4 separate regions of the Homo sapiens genome follow, and all the other regions are linked to region 4. Evidence: promoter capture Hi-C in human tissues and cell types (Jung and others, 2019). All regions are on one chromosome and are shown on one strand. Each heading gives the region's core, a stretch centred on a gene start or on the middle of the fragment in contact. The rest is flanking DNA. Distances are from core to core; before and after follow the strand shown. Region 1 overlaps ADCY9 (adenylate cyclase 9). Region 2 overlaps ADCY9 (adenylate cyclase 9). Region 3 has its middle 34 kb from the start of CREBBP. Region 4 holds the start of PAM16 (presequence translocase associated motor 16).

Region 1 (5,760 bases), core at 2,462-4,961, 300 kb after region 4:
ATCAGTGAACAAAACAGACGCTAATCCTGCTTTCGTGAGCCATCTATAATAGAATGGGCGAGTCAAGAAATTGACACATGCATTAGAAAAATATGTAGCGTGTCGCTGGTAAGTGCTTGAGAGCTCATCAGGGAAGGGCAGGAGTTTGTGGAGTGGGGGTGAGGGATGTGGGGTGGGGCGGGGCAAGGGTGGCAAGAGGCCTGGGGCTGCTGGTTGCAACTGTAACCAGAGTGGCCAGGGAAATCCTTGCTCCTCTGGGTAATGCCCTATCCAGAAGACCCTTGCAAATTTCTAAAATGCTGTGTTTTATTACCGAGAAAGAGTCGTCTGGGAGCTCTCCGAGGCAAATAACTTTTGAAGTTGGCATGAGCAGGATATTGTGCAATGGGGCTCACTGGCTGCGTCCCAGGCCTCCGCATCTGATGTGAACCACAGCTTTGCAATCGGGTCCCCGTGCCATCCAAAAATATTTTGTGACCTTGCCGGTTGGCAGTTTTTTAAAAATGTTATTTTCAGTCTCCAAAAAAGGGAAACATCAAAGTGCAGGCTGTCCACTCCTGCCCTTCTTGATAGACACAGACAGCTGGGCCACACAATCAGCCATTGTGGCGACAAGTGCCCAACTGTTATAAATAGACGGCGGGCTCGCACGTGAAGCGCTCCAGAGGAAGGGCAAGTGCTCTGGGGACACTGCCAACTGCTGTTTCCGTCGAGAGCTCTTCTCAAAGATCAATATTATTTTATGTCTCAGTGACTGAATTTGAAAAAACGACTGTGAAAGCACCTGGTAACTTAACTGTCTCCAGGATTCCATTCCAAACGCATCTTCTCTCTTCACTGTTAATCTTAGATGTTTCCCATGCTTATTTAGTAATCATTGCCTGACGGCCCACTTCACTGCGATTTACAGTCTCTTGCGGCTCACTTGAAATGGTAGAGTTATGGATAACCGCGCTGGTGTATGTGCGTGTGATGCGTGGCCGGAAGCGCATGCCCATTGAATAATCACGTTCGTCCCACATCTTAGCCCCTCTTCCAAGACATGTTTACTATCGTTTACGTGTGACATGTCAAAACATCTTAAAACTATGCCACGCATGTAATAGGCTCTCAGTGATTAAAAAATCAGTTTGTCTCTTAAGGAGAAAAGAATAACAGCATGTGACTCTTGTGAGTCCCTGACAAAGAATCTGTTGTTCCCCGTGCACTTGAAGAGCCGCTCATGTCAAGAAGCAACTTGTGATTATGCAATGTGTGACTTAAGGCATTGTCAGATGCGTTCGGCTGAAACGGGACCCCGCCCCAGCAGTTTGCCTTACTAAGTTAACATGGTAGGTCAGATTTTAGTATTGTAGAAAAAGCCACATTCAATATTCTTTGAGTAGCATATTTATTTCCTAGGGCTACTGTACCAAAGTACCTCAAACCAGGTGGCTTCAAACAACAGAGTTACACGCTAGTTGATATCTAGTGATTCAAAGAACAGAATTCCACACTAGTTGTTATCTAGGAATGCGGAGTGAGTGATAGAGGGGGTTTTGGTGGCGTTATATTCTAATTTTGAAGTAAGTTTAAATTTACAGAGATGCTCCCAAACAGTATAAAGAATTCCCAAATACTCTTCACCCAGATTCCCTGAATTAACATTCCGACATGTTTGTCTGTCTGTCTCTCCACATACACACATCCCTTTTTTCCGGAATAATTTGAGAATAGACTGCAGAGAGTGCCTCTAGATTCTCCTGTGTGGGTTTCCTAAAAACAAGGACGCTGTCCCGGATAGCCTGCACCGACCTGCCCAAATCAGGACGTGGGCACTGTCACACCATGCCACCAAATGCAGAGGCCCCGGAGCCCGCCCAGGACCACAGGCGCCGTCTGTGTCAATGGCTCTCGAGTCTCCTTCAATCTGGGGCTGTTCCTTCGTCTCTGTCTTTCACGACCTTGACATTTTTTTAAGAGAACAGGCCAGTTACTTTGTAGAATGTCCCTCGGTTTGGGCTGGTCTCATATTCCTTCATGATGAGAATCAGGTGGTAGGTTCCTGGCAGGAGAGTCCCTGCAGGGTTGTCACGACAGGAACGCACACAGGTCTGATCAGTCCCATTTCTGGAGAAGTTAACTTATCATTTGGTTGAGGTGGTGTCTACCAGGTTTCTCCACTGTAAAATTAATTTGTTGGTATTTTGTAATTATCAGTTAAAAAGTACTGTTTCTGGTGGGGAGATTTTTTGGGGACTCGGAAAATATCCTGTTTCTCATTAAGCTTTTTGCCCATTTGTTTTAGCATCCTGGGATGATTCTTGCCTGAGGGAATTAGTATGAGCATTGCCAAATGGTGATGTTTCTAGTTGCATTGTTTCTTTTGCATTGATTAGTTGGCATTCCACTGCAAGCTGGAGCTTGCCTGCTGTCTTTCTCTCCTTCCTATCAATACACTCATAGACTCCTATTTTACCCATTGGGTTATAATTCATTACCATTATCATTTGCTTCGATACCCAGATTGTCCCAGATTTGGCCAAAAGCAGCGCCTCCAAGCTGGCCCCTGTGTTCTTTTGATGTGTTCATGTCATTCTTTGAGCACATCTTTACTTCTTCTTCTTTTTTTTTTTTTTTTAGATGGAGTCTTGCTCTGTTGCCCAGGTGGGAGTTCAGTGGCGTGATCTCTGCTCATTGCAAGCTCCGCCTCCCGGGTTCACGCCATTCTCCCGCCTCAGTCTCCCGAGTAGCTGGGACTACAGGCGCCCGCCACCACGCCCGGCTAATTTTTGTATTTTTAGTAGAGACGGGGTTTCACTGTGTTAACCAGGATGGTCTCAATCCCCTGACCTCGTGATCTGCCTGCCTCAGCCTCCCAAAGTGTTGGGATTACAGGTGAGAGCCACCATGCCTGGCCAGGTTTTTTCGTTTTTGTTTTTGTTTTTTTTGAGATGGAATCTCACTCTGTTGCCCCGGCTGGAGTGCAATGGCGTGATCATGGCTCACTGAAACCTCTGCCTCCTGGGTCCATGCAATTCTCCTGCCTCAGCCTCCCATGTAGCTGGGATTACAGGCGTGCGCCACCACACCCAGCTAATTTTTGTATATTTAGTAGAGATGGGGTTTCACCATGTTGGCCAGGCTGATCTCCAACTTGTAACCTCAGGTGATCTGCCTGCCTCGTCCTCCCAAAGTGCTGGGATGACAGGTGTGAGCCACTGCTCCCGGCCACATGTTTAGTTCTTGGTTCTAGGCTCACCCGGAACTTTCCTTGCTCCAGCCCTGGAATCAGCCATTTCTCCAATAAGCCCTGGTTCCTTTTAGTAGAAAGTGGTTTTTAGAAACCAGGATCTAAGTATTAGGTGTGTTCACGCTACTGGGCTATTACGGCTACAAGGACTTCTCAAGCAGCGTAGTTAGGAATTTTTTTTTTTTTTTTTTTTTTTTGAGACGGAGTTTCACTCTTGTTGCCAAGACTGGCATGCAGTGGCAGGAACTTGGCTCACCGCAACCTCTGCCTCCCGGTTCAAGCAGTTCTCCTGCCTCAGCCTCCCTAGTAGCTGGGATTACAGGCATGCGCCACCACGTCCGGCTAATTTTGTATTTTTAGTAGAGACGGGGTTTCACCATGTTGGTCAGGCTGGGTCTCAAACTCCTGACCTCAGGTGACCCATCCATCTTGGCTTCCCAGAGTGCTGGGATTACAGGCATGAGCCACCGCGCCTGGCATAGCTAGGAAATTAAACATATGCATGTACTTCCCTACACGTACACATATGTTTGTACATACACACACGGGCACACATGCGTTTGTAGTTCTTTGTATCCATCTGTCCCGCTCGTATCTATGTATCCATTCATCTCATATAAAAATCATGATACCATCCAAGTCAAATGGTTTGTTTCAGCTTTCTCCCCTTTCCTTGGCTGTGCCCCTCTTTTCTAACAATAACAGTAACAGCTCTTATCATATTAACTGTTTTTATTTATTGACCCTTGTATGTCACCAGTCTTCTGACATGCAGGCCATCCAGTCCATGTTCCTGGCCCAGGAACATGGCAGCCAAGGGTCCCCACCCCCACTTCGGCCCCCAACAGTGGACTCTCGGGATAGTTCTTTTTTTTTTTTTGAGACACAGTCTCACTCTGTCACCCAGGCTGGAGTATAGTGGTGTGATCTCGGCTCACTGCAGCCACTAACTCCTGGGTTCAAGCAGTCCTCCCACCCTAGCTTCCTGAGTAGCAGGGACTACAGGTGTACACCATCATGCCCGTCTACTTTTGTATTTTTTGTAGAAACAGGGTCGGTCTTACCTTGTTGCCCAGGCTGGTGGATAGTTCTTTATAGCAGTAGCCTAAACAGAAAAACATATACAACATAAGCTAAGAAAAAGGCCTCCCTTATCGATATTTCTGGGTTAATCTGAAAGATTTTGAAGTCTGGAAGAATCAGCTGGTTGTTGGTAAAGGGACGGTGGACATGAAGGATGCGGAAGGGATGGGTTGGAGGCGGGAGGTGAGTTTCATGTGGTGTTTTTGACTCAGAGGGTCACTTTTATTGTTCTGCCTTGTAGTCAGAAGAAAAATCTTTTCACGTGGTTTCGGCTCAGAAGTATGTTAGAAAGTAGACTACAGAGACTGAAGGTGACATTCCAGAGACTTTTTAAGGATAATCTGGCCAAAGGTGTTTACTATTTGATTAGCCAGCATCCTTGGGCTCGGCTAGGGTCTTGGTCTGGTCTGAGAACATGTTGGGGGATTGTGCCAGTGTCGGTGGTGGGTGCCTGTGCCTGGTCATCTATGGGCAGCTAGGGGTGGGTGCTGCCCCTTCCGACTTTCTCTCCACTGCAGAGACGAAGCCTTCAGCAGCATTTCCCTGGACCCTCTTCTCTCTGGTCCCAGGTCAGGTTCTGTACAGCAATGGAAAGCAGGGGAGAGGATGCCCACGCTGTGCGTGGCCGTTTGGAGCAGACTCAGGGACCAGTGGGACCTCCTCTTCTGGGTGAGCTTGGCAACCACTCTTTTAGGAATTCCAGTTTGTAATGCCTTCCGGGTGAGCCCTGTGAGTCGCTTGCTCTTAGTAGTGTCCTTTGCTGCCCCAGCCTTCTGCTTCCCTGTATTTAAAACCTTTCTGAGCCAGGATTACGATTTCCTGATACCATGACTGACCCTTGGTCGTTATGAGTCCTGATGGTCCCAGGAGCTTTTCCTTCATTTGCTTGGGTTTTGAGTTGTGAGCTGGAGACCAGGGGTTTTGCTTGATGGGGACATTCCTGGCTCTTCTCCTGGGGAGTGACCATGGGCCCTGCCTAGGTGAGATCCTCTGGATTGTGAGGAGGGACTTGAGCAGCCCTACTAGAGTGCCGTCTATGGGAACCCTCAGCATCGCCTGTCCAAGCCAGCATCTAGTGGACGCTCACGCTGTGTGAGACACTGAGCTTATCCAGCAAGGGCAGAAATGGCAGCTCTTGGGAAAGAAGGGAGTGGGGCATCGCTGTGTCTCCTATTATTTGCCATTGTGGCCTCCCTCTCCAGGTGCACCGAGGGGCCTATCTGTGTGATTCTTGCAGGGGTACTGACGTCCGTTTCATCTCACCCGTGTCCCTCTACAAGTGCAGGAGTTGTAGGGCTATGTTATTCTTAGGTAGCTTAATGGATCCATTTTCATAATAAACTCCATTTTATTTTGTTTGCCATTGTACTGCCATTTGCGGAACAAAGAGAAGTTATATAAACCACAGAAGGGGGAGAATGTGACCCAGGAATAAACTGTTGTGT
Region 2 (5,308 bases), core at 2,300-4,799, 280 kb after region 4:
TCGCTTGAACCCGGGAGGTGGAGGTTGCAGGGAGCCGAGACCGCACCACCGCACTCCCGCCTGGATGACAGTGAGACTCTGTCTCAAAAACCAAACAAAAAAACCCAGAATTCGTGGGCCAGAACAACAATGAAAAAAGAACGTATTCTGTTAAGAAGCCAACTAAAATGCATCATGATGAAAATTAAAACTCGGTTCTTCTTTAGAGACTTGTTGCAGCCAGGAAATGGTTCAGGATTAGCCCAAATTGTAGGCAGATAATAAAAACTCACAAACAATGGTTAAGGCTAGAATCTAAATTTTTCTTTCTCCAGTTTCCCCATTTCTACCAGGGATAAATTATATATATAATAGTAAGACCAATTTATTTGCAAAACAAATTTTAGTTGCTTTATACTTGGCCTGAAGATTTGCATCAAATGTAGCAAGAATTGTGATCCACCATACGGACCCTTTTTAAGTTGGCTTTGCAGGAACCTTTATAAGGAATTTTGGATTTGACTTTTTAAAAGCCTCAATGCCAGATATTGATCTGTTTTCAACTTTTTTGATTTTTTTTTTTTTTTTTTTTTTTTTTTTTTTTGGAGACTGAGTTTCGCTTTTGTTGCCCAGGCTGGAGTGCAAGTAGCACCATCTCTGCTCACTGCAACCTCCGCTTCCCGGGTTCAATTGATTCTCCCGCCTCAGCCTCCCGAGTAGCTAGGATTACAGACATGGATCACCATGGCTGGCTGATTTTTGTATTTTTAGGAGAGATGGGATATTACCATATTGGCCAGGCTGGCCTCGAACTCCTGGCCTCAAGTGATCTGCCCACCTGGGCCTCCCAAAGTGCCGGGATTACAGGTGTGAGCCACCACGCCTGGCTACTACTTGGTTACTTTGTAACCCCGCCTCTTTGATGGGTCAAGAAAAGTTGTGGTTATATTATTTATCTTGGTTTTTATTATTATTATTATTTTATTTTTTGAGACGGAGACTCTCTCTGTTGCCAAGACTGGAGTGCAGTGGTCTGATCATGGCTCACTGAAGCCTTGACCTTCTGGGCTCAAAGTAATCCTCCCATCTCAGACTCCTGAGTAGCTAGGACTACATGCATGCATCATCACACCCAGCTCATTTTTATGTATTTTTGTGTGTAGATGGGGTCTTATGTTACTCAGGCTGGTCTGGAACTCCTGGGGTCAAGTAGTCCTCCTGCCTCGGCCTCCCAAAGTGATAGGATTACAGGTGTGAGCCACTGCACTTCGCTTTTTTCTTTTTAAAGAGAAAGGATCTCTCTATGTTGCCCAGGCTGGACTTGAACTCCTGGACTCAAGCGATCCTCCTGCCTTGGTCTTCGAAAGCACTGGGATTACAGGTGTGAGCCACCAGGCCCAGCCAGTTTTAATTTCTGTTAGGTGGAATGACATTCCAGGTTTCTAAAAATAACTTCTACTTGGTTATTTTTCAAAAGTTTTGTTGAGTTCAGTAATTATATAAGGTTTATAACATAATATTATTTGAAACTTTCATCCACATCCTATTCTTTACTGGTAGAGAAAAGCCACATATAAGAAATACATGTGTGTTTGTCTTTTATAAATATATGTTACCCAGTTTTCCAGTTACTAGCTGCAAGTTTTTTTTCCAGGTCATAATTTGGAGAAAAATATATGCGTGAAAATTATAACGATAAAGCTTATTTTCTATACAACAAACAGTGAGTGATATGGAAATGTATGTCCTTACTAGTAATTTTAAAAGTACAAAAGAGAATGCCTTAAAAGTACACACACACACACACACACACACATACACACACATACATATTTTTTTGAGACAGAGTCTCACTCTGTTGCCGAGGCTGGAGTGCAGTAGCGCAATCTTAACTCACTGCAACCTTTGCCTCCCGGGTTCAAGCAATTCTTGTGCCTCACCCTCCTGAGTGGCTGGGATTACAGGCATGTGCCACCACGCCTGGCTAATTTTTTTGTACTTTTAGTAGAGACAGGGTTTCACCATCTTGGGCAGACTGGTCTCAAACTCCTGCCCTCAAGTGATCCACCTGCCTCAGCCTCCCAAAGTGCTGGGATTACAAGTGTGAGCCACCATGCCTGGCCGCATTATATACTTTTTAAGGCAGAGAAAATTTTCTAAAACTTGATGGGTGGCCTGTTGTTGCTGGTTCACTTCTTCTAAAGAACAGAAGTAAGAACTGTAACACTGTCCGAATCCTGGGAGAGTCGCCTTAGAAGATGGTCCTGTAGATACAAGAGAATAATTTACTCAATGATACGAATATAATTGAGAATAGCAAAAATTGAACAGCAGCCAAATTGGTGATGAGTGAGGTAACTCTGGTAAGTCACCCTGATAGAATATATTCCATTTATTCATTGTTCATAGAATATATTCTATTTATTCGTTGTTCTTCCAACCTTTGTTGAAGCCCCACTCTGTCAGACTCGGCACCAAGTGTCTGAGATGCCTTCGCTCATTACATCTTCACGGCTCCCCCGAGAAGTAGATGTTACTTTCATTATCTGCATTTTACAACCAAGGAACCGGGATATTAAATTACTTCTCTAGGTCATGCAGCTAGTGTGCGGTGGGCTAAATGTACAATCCCCCTAATAATAATAATAATAATAATAATAATAACTTACAACAACAGCATATTGAAATAAGAAAAAAAATTTGAAAAATCTCTTTGATTCGTAAAGATGAAAAAATTGATTCTAGTTGTTGGTGGTGAGAGGAAAGGGAACGCAGGCCCTCTGAAACACTGTTGGTGGGACTACGAATTGCAGAAACCTTTTTGAGGACATTTTGCATATCTTCAGAATTTCACATGTCATGCCATTTGACCAAGTCCTTTCACTTTTAGGGATTTACCCTATGGCAATATTTGCACAAGTACAAAAATGTATGTATGAGAATCTTGGTTACTGTCTTTCTTGTAATAGCAGAAAGTGGGAAATCACTTGAACATCTATTAGGTGGAAATTATGGTCTGTCCTTATGGTGGAATAGTTGTAACCATTTGTAAGAATGAGATAGATCTGCGTGTACCCATATGTGCAAAAGAGCCACCGTGAATTGTTTTTTTTTTTTTTTGAGATGGAGTCTCGCTTTGTCACTCATGCTGGAGTGCAGTGGCTCGATCTTGGCTCACTGCAAGCTCCGCCTCCTGGGTTCACACCATTCTCCTGCCTCAGCCTCCTGAGTAGCTGGGACTACAGGCGCCCGCCACCATGCCCAGCTAATTTTTTTTTGTATTTTTAGTAGAGACGGGGTTTCACCGTGTTAGCCAGGATGGTCTCGATCTCCTGACCTCATGATCCGCTCATCTAGGCCTCCCAAAGTGCCGGGATTACAGGTGTGAGCCACCGTGCCCGGCCATGAACTGTGAATTGAAAAAAGCAAGCAACTGTACCATATGTAAAACATGATCTCATTTTCCATAAAATAGCGTGTTTAATAATGTGGGTCTAGAGAGATAATAATACATGCATTGAAGGATATATACAAATTTATATATAGCGCGTGTTCTTTACAGTGGGATTAGAGGAACTTGTACTAATATTTTTTTTGCTTTGTTTTTTTTTTGCAACAGATATGATTTTATTATTAGAAAAACCAGATTTAAAAAAAGCCATTATATGAGTTTTCCTAGTTGGCAAAAATTCATTATATGAGTTATCCTAGTTGGCAAAAAAGGCACTTAAGTGAGGAAAGGAGATGCAAAATCATCCTTGACTGTAAAGGGGTGCAGGTGGGATATGAGCTTGTCTGGGTATGAGAATATCATGTTCTATGCATTTTTTATTTCCTAAACTGCTTAAATTATAAATCATTAATGGTAATTATTAAAAGACTTTGTTTTCCCTACAATTAGAAAAACTTATTTGAAGACCTCAAATCCCAAAAGTGAAAGAGGAAAAAAAAAATTATTGCCACGGTTTTTCCCTTAACCCATTTAATTAAAGAATTAATTAAATTCTATGTTGCAGTTTTTCACCAAAAGTGCAACATAGAGTTAGTTCAGTCACCACAAAAAGATTCAGAGATTGGATTTTGCTGACTTAGTGAAGCTACTAAGATACAAATTCACAAAGTAAATGTTTGCACACATTAGCTACAGTGGCAAAGTGTTTGGGAGGTTGCAGTCCACCTCCCGGTGAGGGAGATCCATCCTTTTGGTCAGCAAATGCCCTGAATTGACCCTCTCCCGAGGGTCAGCTGCAGGCTGTGCTGATCTCGGAACTTCTCTGGGGGTCCAGTTCTGTTTAGGACAGACCATAAAATACATCTCTCTGGGGTGGGTAGAGCTACCCCAGTACTTACCCTGGAAATGGACTCAGCTGTCCCTGGAGGGTGACTCAGTTGAGGCAGAATTGTCTTAATTTGGTAACTCTCCTAATTTGAAGCAGAAGTCCTGGGTTTGACCCAGACCCATCTTGGTCTGGAGTGGAGTTGTGGTGTGTCTAATGCTGCCAGATCATGTTCACTGTTAGAAGCCTGGGGAAGGGAAGGAACTTGCTCAGCCAACTCAGAAGCAGGCATAGCGCAAGAGGGAGGATTTTAAGAATTAGTATTTTACTATCCTTGTGAGCTGGTGTTATTGACAAACATTATTTCAATCTGTTTAACGATTTTAAGAATTAGTATTTTACTACCCTTGTGAGCTGGTGTTGTTTCTAAATATTATTTCAATCTGTTTAACAATTCCATTTTTTAAAAACCCTGCACTTTGGGCAGGAGTTCGTATTTCTAATTTAGGATGAATTTTTTCTCATCTCCCCCCATTCTGTGATTCTAATTTTTTTTAAGTTATTTCAGTTCTTAAAACTCTTTCATAGAGCTGGGCATCAGCCGCAATTTTCTCTAAATCTGTCTCAGATGAGCACTTGCAGTCTAATTGTATAAAAGATCAGGAAATTTAGTATTGAAGTTGCACTTGCTTTGATGTAATGATGAATGTTTCCTTCATCTGAAGAGCATTTGAAATTTATGGAAAAGTAAATCTTTTTGAATTATATGTAAATGAAAACGTTGGGATGAACCAGGTTATGTTTAACTGGGCAGTTTTGAAATTCTAATAGCTCCTACAAGCGGGAATCTTTTAAAGCTAATTTTGTGATATGAATTGTTTATTATTCTAAAGAATAATATTCACTTTTTTTTCATGGATCTCATGTAAATGTTACTGGACAATATGACCCATCTCTTTAAAAAGTGAAATTGTTAGTGGGAAGCTGTGGCTCACACTTATAATTCCAGCACTTTGGGAGGCTGAGGCGGGAGGATCACCTGAGCCCAGGCA
Region 3 (5,426 bases), core at 630-3,129, 440 kb after region 4:
AATTCAGGAACATCATGGTCGTTTTAATCCAGGTGGTTCTGGCTCGGGGTCTCTTGTGAGGTTGCATTTACGATGTCGGCTGGGGCTGCTATCATCTGAAGGCTCAACTGGGGCTGGAGGAGCCACCTCCAAGATGGCGCCTTCTTGTGGCTGCTGGCTGGAGGGTTTGGTCTTCACCAGTGGCCAACACAGTGCTGTTTTAATGACATAGCAGCTGGTTTTCCCCAGAGGAGGGATCTGAGAGCAAGGGAGGGAAAAAGTAGGAACCCACAGGCCTTTTATGACCAGTCCCCAAGGTCACACAGTGTCACCCCTGCCTTATCATTTAGAAGTGATCCACTAATTCCATCCCACATTCAACGGCAGGGGATGAGGCTCCACCTCTTAAAGGGAGGAATATCAAAGAGTTTGTTGTGGATATATTTTAAACCACAGCAGGCAGCGGCATTCACATCCCAGTTTAAGAGTCTTTAATTAACTTGCCCCAGATCACACACAAGGAAGTGGTGCGAATGAGATTAGAATCCAGCTCCCGGCCAGGTGTAGTGGCTCATGCCTGTCATCTCAGCACTTTGGGAGGCTGAGGCAGGAGGATCACTCGAGTCCAAGCGTTTGAAACCATCCTGGGTAACATAGTTAGACCTTGTCTCTACCAAAAATAAAAAAAATGAGACAGGAAGATCACTTGATACCAGGAGGTCAAGGCTGCAATGAGCCATGATTGTGCTACTGCACTCCTGCCTAGGTGATCTGGGTGATGGGAGTAAGACTCTGTCTCAAAAAAAAAAAAAAAAAAAAAAAAAGAACCAAGCTCCCCAGAGCCCATGTCCTTTCTCTGGTGCATGCTGCCCTCATGGGAAGAAGGCAGTCATAACCCGGCCAGCTCTCACCCTGACCTTGCTACAGCCCCTGAGAAGATGTCACTGAAGGCTGTGTCTATGTGTGCACTCAAACAAATTGGCTGCTACGGCTTCACCAGGCTGCATCTGCTCTCTCTGGACTACTGGTGGCTACTATCATCACCAAAGCAGTGTCTGTGCCCTGTTTTATAGGGTAAATCAGCTCATCTTTACTTATGGCGTATATGCACCCCCAGGTTCCTCCTGCTCCCTGGCTACGTATGCCACAGGGTCTGAAGAGCCAGAGGGGTGTGCGGTGTTGGTATGTGATAGGCCATGTAACTAACTATTCCAGGTCAGCTCACTGGGCCTGGCTCCTCCCTTCCACGGGTGAGTGATTTCCTGGAAGCTCCTTGGCCTGTGCACAAGCTTCTGGTGAGGCCCGACCCACCAGCCCAACATACATTTCCAAAGCATCTGAGTCCATCCCAGGTCCCAGCCTGGGCCCAAAACTAGGGTTTCCCCCATCAGGAAACAGGGAGAAGGAGCCCAGGAAGTTTGAGCCAGGGCCACCTGTCATGCTTAAGGCACAAACATGGGTCCAGATGCCACCGAACGGTACATTGCCTGTGCCAGACTGGCTCAAGGCCCAGAGGGGCCAACTGCCAGGTGGATCTCCATGTGCCCAGCAGAGAGGGGCTGGGGAAGGCAGAACCCGAGGTCTCCTCTCTCCTCCTCTCCCTGCCCTGCGTCCATCACCAGGACGTGCTTCGTGGTGGAAGAGCCAGAGGGGCGTGCAGTGTTGGTATGTGACAGAACTTGTGTGATCACTCCCTGCTATGCAATTAAGTGCAGATTCCCCACGCTGTGGGGAGTGTGCCAGCCCCGCCCTCTGTGCGGTGTGGGACTCAATGCTGTCACTGTGAGATCGGATGGGCCTTGGTGTCCTGCTGTCCTTGGATATGTTCCTGAGCTTAGGGTGATCCATTCGTAAAAGGGGAATAGGGGCATCTACTTCCCAGAGCGGTTGTGAGGAGTCAACAAGATCATGCGTAGAGAGAGCTTGACTCAGCCCTCCCGGTAGGGTAAGCACTCAGTGGGTGTCTGCTGTTGGAGGATGGTCCAACTATTGTCACCATTGTCACCATTCAGAGGGGTGGCCACGTTTTGCACATTAATTGTCATGGTGTGGCCCTAGGACTACTTCTACAGGGCTGGACTTCTCGCCATCAGTCCAGGTGTGCTGTGACCCCATCAAGATCCATTCTTACTCTATGTGGGCCTTCAATTTGCACCATACAAGTCAAACTCCCGAGAGAGGCTGGACTGAGAGGGAAGGATGAGGTCAGGGCCCTCAAGAGGGCAGGACAGGAAGCTTTGTGGATCAGGAGAGAGTGGGGCCCATTCACATCAAATGCGTTTGTCCCAGAACTGTTTCTACCCTCCAAGGAGCGTCTTGCAATTGAAGTAGGTAAACTCCGCTGTTGTTGTTGCCCGTGGGAGGTCATATACGTCCTGGTTTGCATGGGGGCTATTTTGGAGGGTTCAGAGTGGTAAAGATGAACAGAAGCACCCATCGAAGGTGATGGCCAGACGCCTGCAGGAACGGGTGGAGGAGGCAGAGAGAAGTGGAAGAGGGACAGAGGACTAAAGGAAAGAAGAGGCCACCAGGTAGCAGGAGAGCACCAAGGAGGCGCGAGTCCTGGATCTTGCATCCGTCTCTGTGTCGTGGGAGAGTCCAACTCCCACTGCAGCTCACCCCAGCAAGGCAGCTTGACAAAGCTCTGCTGTCTCCTGATCCCGGTGACAAACAACCCGTCTGCTTGTTTTAGGGCTGCCAAGGCCTGTTGTACAACGCAATGGGGTAAACCCTGCAGACATCAGCCCTCCTTATTCATCTGCTATTTGGCGCTAAGCATTCAGTATTTATCTTGGTCAGGCACAGTGGGTCACGCCTGTCATCCCAGCACTTTGGAAAGAAGAGGTGGGAGGATTGCTTGAGCCTGTAAGTTCGAGACCATCCTGGGCAACTTAGTGCCCAGTCTCTATGAGAAAAAGTTAGAACTGCCCGGGCGTGGTGGTCCACATGTATAGTCACAGCTACTCAGGAAGCTAAGGCAGGAGGATTGCTTGAGCCCAGGGATTCAAGGCTGCAGTGAGCTATGGTCTTGCCACTGTACCCCAGGCTGGATGACCGAGAGAAACTCTGTCTCTAAAAAAAATCAAATAAATAAATAAAAATCTTGGCTGGGCACAGTGGCTCATGCCTGTAATCCCAGGAATTTGGGAGGCTAAGGCGGGTGGATCACCTGAGGTCTGGAGTTCGAGATCACCCTGGCCAACATAGCAAAACCCTGTCTCTACTAAAAATACAAAAATTAGCTGGGCATGGCGGCACGCGCCTGTAATCCCAGCTACTCGGGAGGATGAGGCAGGAGAATCGCTTGAATCCAGGAGGCGGAGGTTGCAGTGAGCTGGGATCATGCCACTGTACTCCAGTCTTGGAGACAAGAGCAAAACTCCGTCTCAAAAAAAAAAAAAAAAAAAAAAAAGACTGGGTGCGGTGGCTCATGCCTGTAATCCCAGTACTTTGGGAGGCCGAGGCAGGCAGATCACGAGGTCAGGAGATCGAGATCATCCTGGCTAACATGGTGAAACCCCGTCTCTACTAAAAATACAAAACATTAGCTGGGCATGGTGGCGGGCACCTGTAGTCCCAGCTACCCAGGAGGCTGAGGCAGGAGAATGGCATGAACCTGGGAGGCGGAGCTTGCAGTGAGCTGAGATCATGCCGCTGCACTCCAGCCTGGGCGACAGAGTGAGACTCCATCTCAAAAAAAAAAAAAAAAAAAAAAAAAAAAAAAAAATTCTTACTGCTGCAATTGACTAGTCTTACTTTTTTTTTTTTTTTTAAATATTATTGCAGGCCAGGCACAGTGGCTCACGCCTGTAATCCAAGCACTTTGGGAGAGGCTGAGGCAGGTGAATCACTTGAGGCCAGATGTTCAAGACCAGCCTGACCAACATGGCAAAACCACATCTCTACTTAAAAAAAAAAAAAAGCACAAAAATTATCTGGGCATGGTGGTGCATGTCTGTAGTCCCAGCTACTCAGGAGGCTGAGGCCCAAGAATCGCGTGAGCCTGAAAGGTAGAGGTTGCAGTGAGCTGAGATTGCGCCACTGCACTCCAGCCTGGGTGACAGAACGAGACTCTGTCTCAAAAAAAAAAAAAAAATTATCCCAAAAAGAGAACTGTTAGACAGTCCACGCATCTGTGCATGGATGCACAAAATCATGCATGCTGCAGTTTAAGGGATTCTAAGGGTCATGAGTCTTGTGGACCAAACATGATTTCATCATCATTTAGAGCCCACGGTAGACAGGACGCTGCAGTTTCAGCTGGGGCTGGGCTTGGGCAAGTCATTAAACATCCATGTGCCTCAGAGTTAGTAGAAGCCATACATTCACAGTGAGTTGGTGACCAAGACACAGTTCATGGATGCCGGTCCCCACCTGGGCCCCCTGCAGTCTACCCTATGGCCACCCAGCCCAGGACACTCAAAGGCAGCCTCATCCCTGCTCTCATGGCTTCTTCATGTACCACCGAGTGGCCCTAAGGAAGGGAAAGGATTCACACGCAGGGCCCCCATTATGCACTAGGCACTGAGCTCATTGCTTTCCATGATCTGGTAACCACCATTCGGTGGGCAGCGCCTACGCTCCTTAGATGCTCACGACTTCTTAGCAAGAGGAAATCCAGGTTCTGAGAACCCAGCTTGCCCAGAGTTGCCTGCTAGTGGTGGCAAAGCCTGTAGATGAGCCACGTGGCCCCTCCCGGGTCGAAAGCCCAGTTTGCTGTGCTGCATCCTCTCTCCCCATCACCTCATCTGAGCCTCATGACAACTGGCAGGAGGTGACGAGAGCGGCCTCGCTCTACAGGCAATGAGATGCAGGCTCCAGGCTGGGACTCAGCCTCATTCCCAGGTTCTTCCAAGGCCCCCCGTTGCCCATGGACATCACAGAGGGGAGAGGGGGGCATGGGGCAAAGAGAGAAAGCGCCACACAAATGGAATCACAGCCTCATCACTTCCACGAACAAAGGTCTTCTGGGGAACTTCCATGAGTAGGCACACATGGCCACGTGCCGAAACCCGCCTCTCTCTCAGCAGCCACCTGCATCTTCCTTGAAGATGAATGTCTTTCTCAGTTGCTGCCTTTTGATTTGATTTGGTTTGACTTTTGTTTTTTGAGACGGAATCTTGCTCTGTCACATGTGTGATCTTGGCTCACTGTAACCTCCCCCTCCTGGGTTCAAGTGATTCTCCTGCTTCAGCCTCCCAAGTAGTTGGGATTATAGGCACTCAGCACCACGTCCAGCTAAGTTTTGTATTTTTGGAGAGATGGGGTTTCACCATGTTGGCCAGGCTGGTCTTGAACTCCTGACCTGAGGTGATCTGCCCACCTCCACCTCCCAAAGTGCTGGGATTACAGGCATGAGCCGCCGCACCCAGCCTGATTTGACTTGAGAGACAGAGTCTTGATCTGTTGCCGAGGCTTGAGTGCAGTGATGCAATCACAGCTCACTG
Region 4 (5,453 bases), core at 562-3,061:
CACATGCCTGTGGTCCCAGCTACTCAGAAAGCTGAGGTGAAAGTATCACTCAAGGCTGGAAGGTCAAGACTGCAGTGAGCCATGATCATGCTACTGTACTGCAGCCTGGGCAACAGAGTGAGACCCTATCTTGAAAAAAAAAAATTTTTTTTTGGCTGGGCACGGTGGCTTACACCTGTAATCCCAGCACTTTCGGAGGCTGAAGTGGGAGGATCACTTGAACCCAGGAGGTGGAGATCGCAGTGAGCCAAGATTGGGCCACTGCTCTCCAGCCTGGGTGACAGAGCAAGACTTCATCTCAAAAAAAAAAAAAAAAGGAAAAATAATTTAAAAATAAAAAACCGGTTGGGCACAGTGTCACATGCCTATAATCCCAGCACTTTGGGAGGCTGTGGCGGGTGGATCATTTGAGACCAGTAGTTCAAGACCAGCCTGGCCAACATGGTGAAACCCTGTCTCTACTAAAAATTCAAAAATTAATGGGGCATGGTGGTCCATGCCTGTAATCCCAGCTACTCAGGAGGCTAAAGCATGAGCATCGCCTGAACCTGGGAGGTGGAGGTTGCAGTGAGGCAGGATTGTGCCACTGGACTCCAGCCTGGGCGACAGGGTGAGACCCTGTCTCAAAATGATAAATAAAATAAATAAGTAAATTATGTGGTATGGTAGAGGGTGATCAGAGTCTTGGAAGAAAAATAGAGACAAGAAGGGAGGATAAGCCAGTCACAAAAGGCTGCACATTGTATGATTCAATTTCTTCTTTTTTTTCATTTTTCATTTTTACCTTTTTTTTTTTTTTTTTTTTTTTTGAGGCAGGGCCTGACTCTGTCACCCAGGCTGGAGTGCAGTGATCACAGCTCACTGCAGCCTGTACCTCCCGGGCTCAAGAGATCCACCACTCAGCCTCCCAAGTAGCTGGGATTACAGGCACCTGCCACCACACCCGGCTAATTTTTGTATTTGTAGAGATGGGGTTTCACCATGTTGCCCAGCCTGGCCTTGAGTTCCTGACCTCAAGCGATCCACCTCGGCCTCCCAAAGTTTTGAGATTGCAGGCATGAGCCACCACGCCTGGCTTGTATGATTCCATTTCTATGAAATGTCCGGAACCTGTGAATCCATAGAGAGAAAAATGAGTGGTTGACAGGGGCTGGGGGAGGGGGCTGGGGAGTGACTAATGGGTGATGAAAACGTTCTGGAACTAATAGTGGTGACAGTGGCACAGCTCTGTGAATAAAAGGCATTGGACTGTGCACTTGAAAATCATGAAATCTACAGTGTATGGATTATATCTCAATAAAGCTGTTACTTTTTTCATTCATGGAGGGCAAGTCACGGCGTTTTAAGGGGTCCAGGTGGGCCTCATTGAGGTGACATTTGAGCAAAGATTTGAAGAAGGGAACGAGCTTCTCAGGCAGGAGGAATGTGGATGAAACCTATTTTGAAGTTTTCTATTTTCTAAAGTATTTTTGAGAATTTAGCATCCTACTCCATATTATGTTCATTGATTTCATATAATGTTGCATTCCCAAATATTTTGGCAAAATCAAGGGCAGAAATCGCCCCACGTCTGACCGATGTGCTTAGCTGCTCCAGCGCACTGGGGTAAGCACGCGGGCAATTGAGACTCCCGGTAACGCCCCTTGCCCTCCCAAGCCCGCCCCCAGTTATCCAGAGCCCGACGCAGGCTCAGTCAAACCCCGCCTCCGACCCCGCCCCGAGCCGCTAAGACGCTCCCGGTGGCCCGCCCTTAGACTGAGGCAATGCGCATGCCCAGCGCCGTATCGCGCACGCGCTCTCTGCGGCTTTCCTTGACCTCTGACCCGCCGACCACGCTTGATCCCCGGCCGCGGGGCCAGGAAGTCGGAGTTTGAGCCCCGGAGGCAGAGCGGCTGCCATGGTGAGCCCCGAGTCGGGCGCTACCGGGGAGGGGAAGCCGAGTCGGGCCGGGGGCCGGGGGCCGGGCGGCGAGCTCCGGGCTGGGCGGCGGGCGCCGTGCGCCCCCTGCGTGCCCGGCGGGAAGCATGGTCTGGGGGCGTTGCACCCGGGGGAATCGAGGCCGGCAGCGGCGGCACCGGCGGCCTCAGGGCCAGGGAAAACCGTCTGCCTGGAAGAGGCCGGGCAAACGTGGTCGCGCTGTGCCTAGCCCGCGTGTGAGCGAGCAGCCGTGGGCAGCGGTGGAGCATGAGTCTGGCTGGTGAGCGCCTCCCCTGCCCTGGAACCTTACAGCGCTGCAGAGTCGATGTTGCTGCCCTGTTGTTATCCCCAGTGGAAAGCTGGCCTTTCCAGGGAAGTGGCTGACCTGGGACTTGAACTAGGCCCCGAGACACCGAGCACGGAGCGTTTGTGTGATATCGTTGGCACGTAGAGCCAGTCAACAGACCTGCGCCACACTGTCAGGTCACCTAGGGTAGCTTTAAAAGTGCAGGTTTGGCTGGGCGCGGTGGCTCACGCCTGTAATCCCAGCACTCTGGGAGGCCGAGGCGGCGGATCACGAGGTCAGGAGTTCGAGACCAGCCTGGCCAACATGATGAAACCCGGTCTCCACCAAAAAATTTAAAAAATTAGCCGGGTGGGGTGGTGCGCGCCTGTAGTCCAAGCTACCCGGGAGGCTGAGGCAGGACAGACGCTTGAACCCGCGAGACAGAGGTTGCAATGAGCCGAGATCCGCCAGTGCACTCTAGCCTGGGCGACAGGGTGAGACTGCGTCTCAAAAAAAAAATTATATATATGTATTATATATACCGTATACATTTATGTATACTACATATTATTATGTTATATATATTTTTATATATCATGTATTTTATATATATATATACACACACACACACATAATATATACATATGTTAGCCAGGCATGGTGGCACACACCTGTAATCCCAGCTGCTTGGGAAGTTGAGGCGCCAGTATCGCTTGAACCCAGGAGGCAGAGGCTGCAGTGAACCAAGATTGTGCCACTGCACTCCAGTCTGGGCGACAGGGCAAAACTCTCTCAAAAAGAAAAAGAGGGGGAAAAAAAAAGTTCAGGTTCTTGAGCTCTATCCCTGGAGGTTCTGCACACGTAAGTTCCCCAAGTGACTCTGTTGCAGCTGGTTCGGGGAGCCACTTCTTAACTAACATAGTAATAAGGATAATGTAACAGCTAACGGCGTACAAGTGCCAGCCCCTGAGCTAAGGCTTTATGTAGAGTCTCTCATTTAGTGTTTATGAAGTCCTGCTGTCATTGTCCTTATTTTACAGATAAGGAACCTGAGCCCCAGACAGTTTTGACTCCACCATAGTCATGCATCCCATGGTGTCAGAGACCTCTTTTGAGCCCAGCTCTGTCCCAAAACTCATGGGGTTTTTTTGGTTTGTTTTTTGAGATAGGATGTCTGTCTGTCGCCCCGGCTAGGATGCAGTGGAGCGATCCTAGCTCACTGCAGCCTTGAACTCCTAGGCTCAAGCCATCCTCCTACCTTAGACCCCCAAGTAGTTGGGCCTACAGGTGAGTGCCAGCACACCTGGCTAATTTTTAAATTTTATGTAGAGGTGGGGTCTTGCTGTGTTGCCCCAGATGGGTCTCCTAGGCTGGAGTACAGTGGTACGATCACAGCTCACTGCAGCCTCAACCTCCTGGGGCTTAGGTGATCCTCCCATTTCATCCTCCCCAGTAGCCTCAGCCTCCCGGGTAGTTGGGACAACAGGCATGCTCCACTATGCCCAGCTAATTTTTTGTATTTTTTGTAGAGATGCAGTTTCGCCATGTTGCCAGGCTGGTCTCAAACTTCTGGGCCCAAGCAGTCCTCCTGCCTCGGACTCCCAAAGTGCTGGGATTATAGGCGTGAGCCACCGCACCCAGCATGACAGTATATTAACAGGAAAAGAAAGTGCTGGCCGGGCACGGTGGCTCACACCTGTAATCCCAGCACTTTGGGGGTCTCAGGCGGGTGGATCACGAGGTCAGGAGATCAAGACCATCCTGGCTAACATGGTGAAACCCCGTCTCTACTAAAAATACAAAAAATTAGCCGGGTGTGGTGGCAGGCACCTGTAGTCCCAGCTACTCAGGAGGCTGAGGCAGGAGAATGGCTTGAACCCGGGAGGCCGAGCTTGCAGTGAGCCGAAGGTCGCGCTACTGCACTCCGGCCTGGGTGACAGAGCAAGACTCCGTCTCAAAAAAAAAAAAAAAAAAAGAAAGTGCTAGGCCGGGTACGGTGGCTCACGCCTGTAATCCCAGCACTTTGGGTGGATTACCTGAGCTCAGGGGTTCGAGACCAGCCTGGGCAACACGGTGAAACCCTCTCTGTACTAAAAATACAAAAAATTAGCCGGGCATGGCAGCGTGTGCCTGTAGTCCCAGCTACTCAGGAGGCTGAGGCAGAAGAATTTCTTGAACCCGGGAGGCAGAGGCTGCAGTGAGCCGAGATCGCACTACTGCACTCCGGCCTGGGCGACAGAGCAAGACTCCATCTCCAAAAAAAAAAGAAAGTGCTGTCGGAAGGTATACATGGGAGAGCCTGGAAAGGGTTTCACCCGGGGGATGGGGAATGATATTAGGTCCTGAGGGATGTTGGGTTTTGACAGGATCAGGGTAGAAGGGAGGATGTTCAAGGTGGAGGAACTCAGAACAGCAAAGGCCCTGAGGAGTACAGAAGTATGAGAGCGGCTCTAGGAGCAGAGGGTGTGGCTGCAGCGTGGAGAGAGGTGAGGTTGAGAAGTTGAGGCCAGACCAGGCGCTGTGAATGCCAAGCTGGGGAGTGGACCAAATCTGCAGGCGGCGGTGGAGAATTGTGTGTTTACTGGGAGATGGCCAGAACCCTCCCGCAGAAGGGTTAGGAGGCGCTTGGAAACCCTGCCTGGGGACATGGAGTTCATGAGACAGCAGATTGGGCAAAGCTGCAACAGCCATATTCATTCAGATGCACCAGGGGCACTTACTGCGCCAGCCACTGGCCAGGTCCCTGATGTTGTGGCACGTGCTACAGTTGTGGTCCTGACCTTTCTCCTGTCTAGTTGTGATGCCCGTATCTATTCTCAGGGGCCCTGGGTGACCAGAGTGTCCTTGAGAGTGAGTCTCAGGCTGTCTGCTTATCTACCCAGAGCCTGGGGCTTGGCCTCAAAGGCGCATTGCACGCGAATCTCAAAGACACAAGTCAGTGTAAGCCCCATTGCTGAGTGCCTCCCACAGCACTGTCTGTGGTCCCAGCTGCTGGGATCTGGTCCTGCCTTGGGCCAGGTTGCTGCCCAACAACGAAGTGCACATGCTGCCCCCACGCATGCCAGGATTGGATCCTGTGCTTCTGACTGCTGCTCTCTGACAGCCGCGTGGCCTGAAGTTGGATGCCAAGTCAGCTGGGTCCTCTCACCTGGGACCCTCAGGCCCAAGTGTCAGTCGGTGGACTATGGGATGTTTGGAGCCTCTGGGAGGGGCCTCAGGCAGTGGTTGTTTTGGTCACCCATGGTAGCCA

The links. The method cuts DNA at HindIII sites, captures the fragments that hold promoters and counts their contacts. A contact is called where the count stands out against the background at its distance.
Region 1: a fragment that was not itself captured here is called in contact with the fragment with the promoter of PAM16 in region 4 in 1 of the 25 tissues and cell types used here (dorsolateral prefrontal cortex).
Region 2: a contact is called between a fragment that was not itself captured here and the fragment with the promoter of PAM16 in region 4, in 2 of the 25 tissues and cell types used here (liver and stomach).
Region 3: a contact is called between a fragment that was not itself captured here and the fragment with the promoter of PAM16 in region 4, in 3 of the 25 tissues and cell types used here (H1 embryonic stem cells, dorsolateral prefrontal cortex and mesenchymal stem cells).

What each region holds. Positions count from the first base shown.
Region 1 is chr16:4,048,383-4,054,142 of GRCh38, reverse strand. All of the region lies in intron 2 of ADCY9 (adenylate cyclase 9), which reads left to right. It overlaps LOC124900373 (a long non-coding RNA gene), which reads left to right. Exons shown (of 2, transcript XR_007064957.1): 1 at 1-108; 2 at 322-3,871. Among named protein-coding and RNA genes, the nearest start is that of ADCY9, 65 kb to the left of the region's middle. The HindIII fragment of the contact is 8,638 bases long and covers 1-5,760 here.
Region 2 is chr16:4,066,608-4,071,915 of GRCh38, reverse strand. All of the region lies in intron 2 of ADCY9 (adenylate cyclase 9), which reads left to right. Among named protein-coding and RNA genes, the nearest start is that of ADCY9, 47 kb to the left of the region's middle. The HindIII fragment of the contact is 6,066 bases long and covers 517-5,308 here.
Region 3 is chr16:3,911,859-3,917,284 of GRCh38, reverse strand. No RefSeq gene overlaps it. Among named protein-coding and RNA genes, the nearest start is that of CREBBP, 34 kb to the right of the region's middle. The HindIII fragment of the contact is 5,064 bases long and covers 1-4,411 here.
Region 4 is chr16:4,347,679-4,353,131 of GRCh38, reverse strand. PAM16 (presequence translocase associated motor 16) reads left to right here and starts at 1,811. Exons shown (of 5, transcript NM_016069.11): 1 at 1,811-1,900. The coding sequence starts at 1,898. All of the region lies in intron 27 of CORO7-PAM16 (CORO7-PAM16 readthrough), which reads left to right. RefSeq lists an enhancer at 5,283-5,453. The HindIII fragment of the contact is 27,496 bases long and covers 1-5,453 here.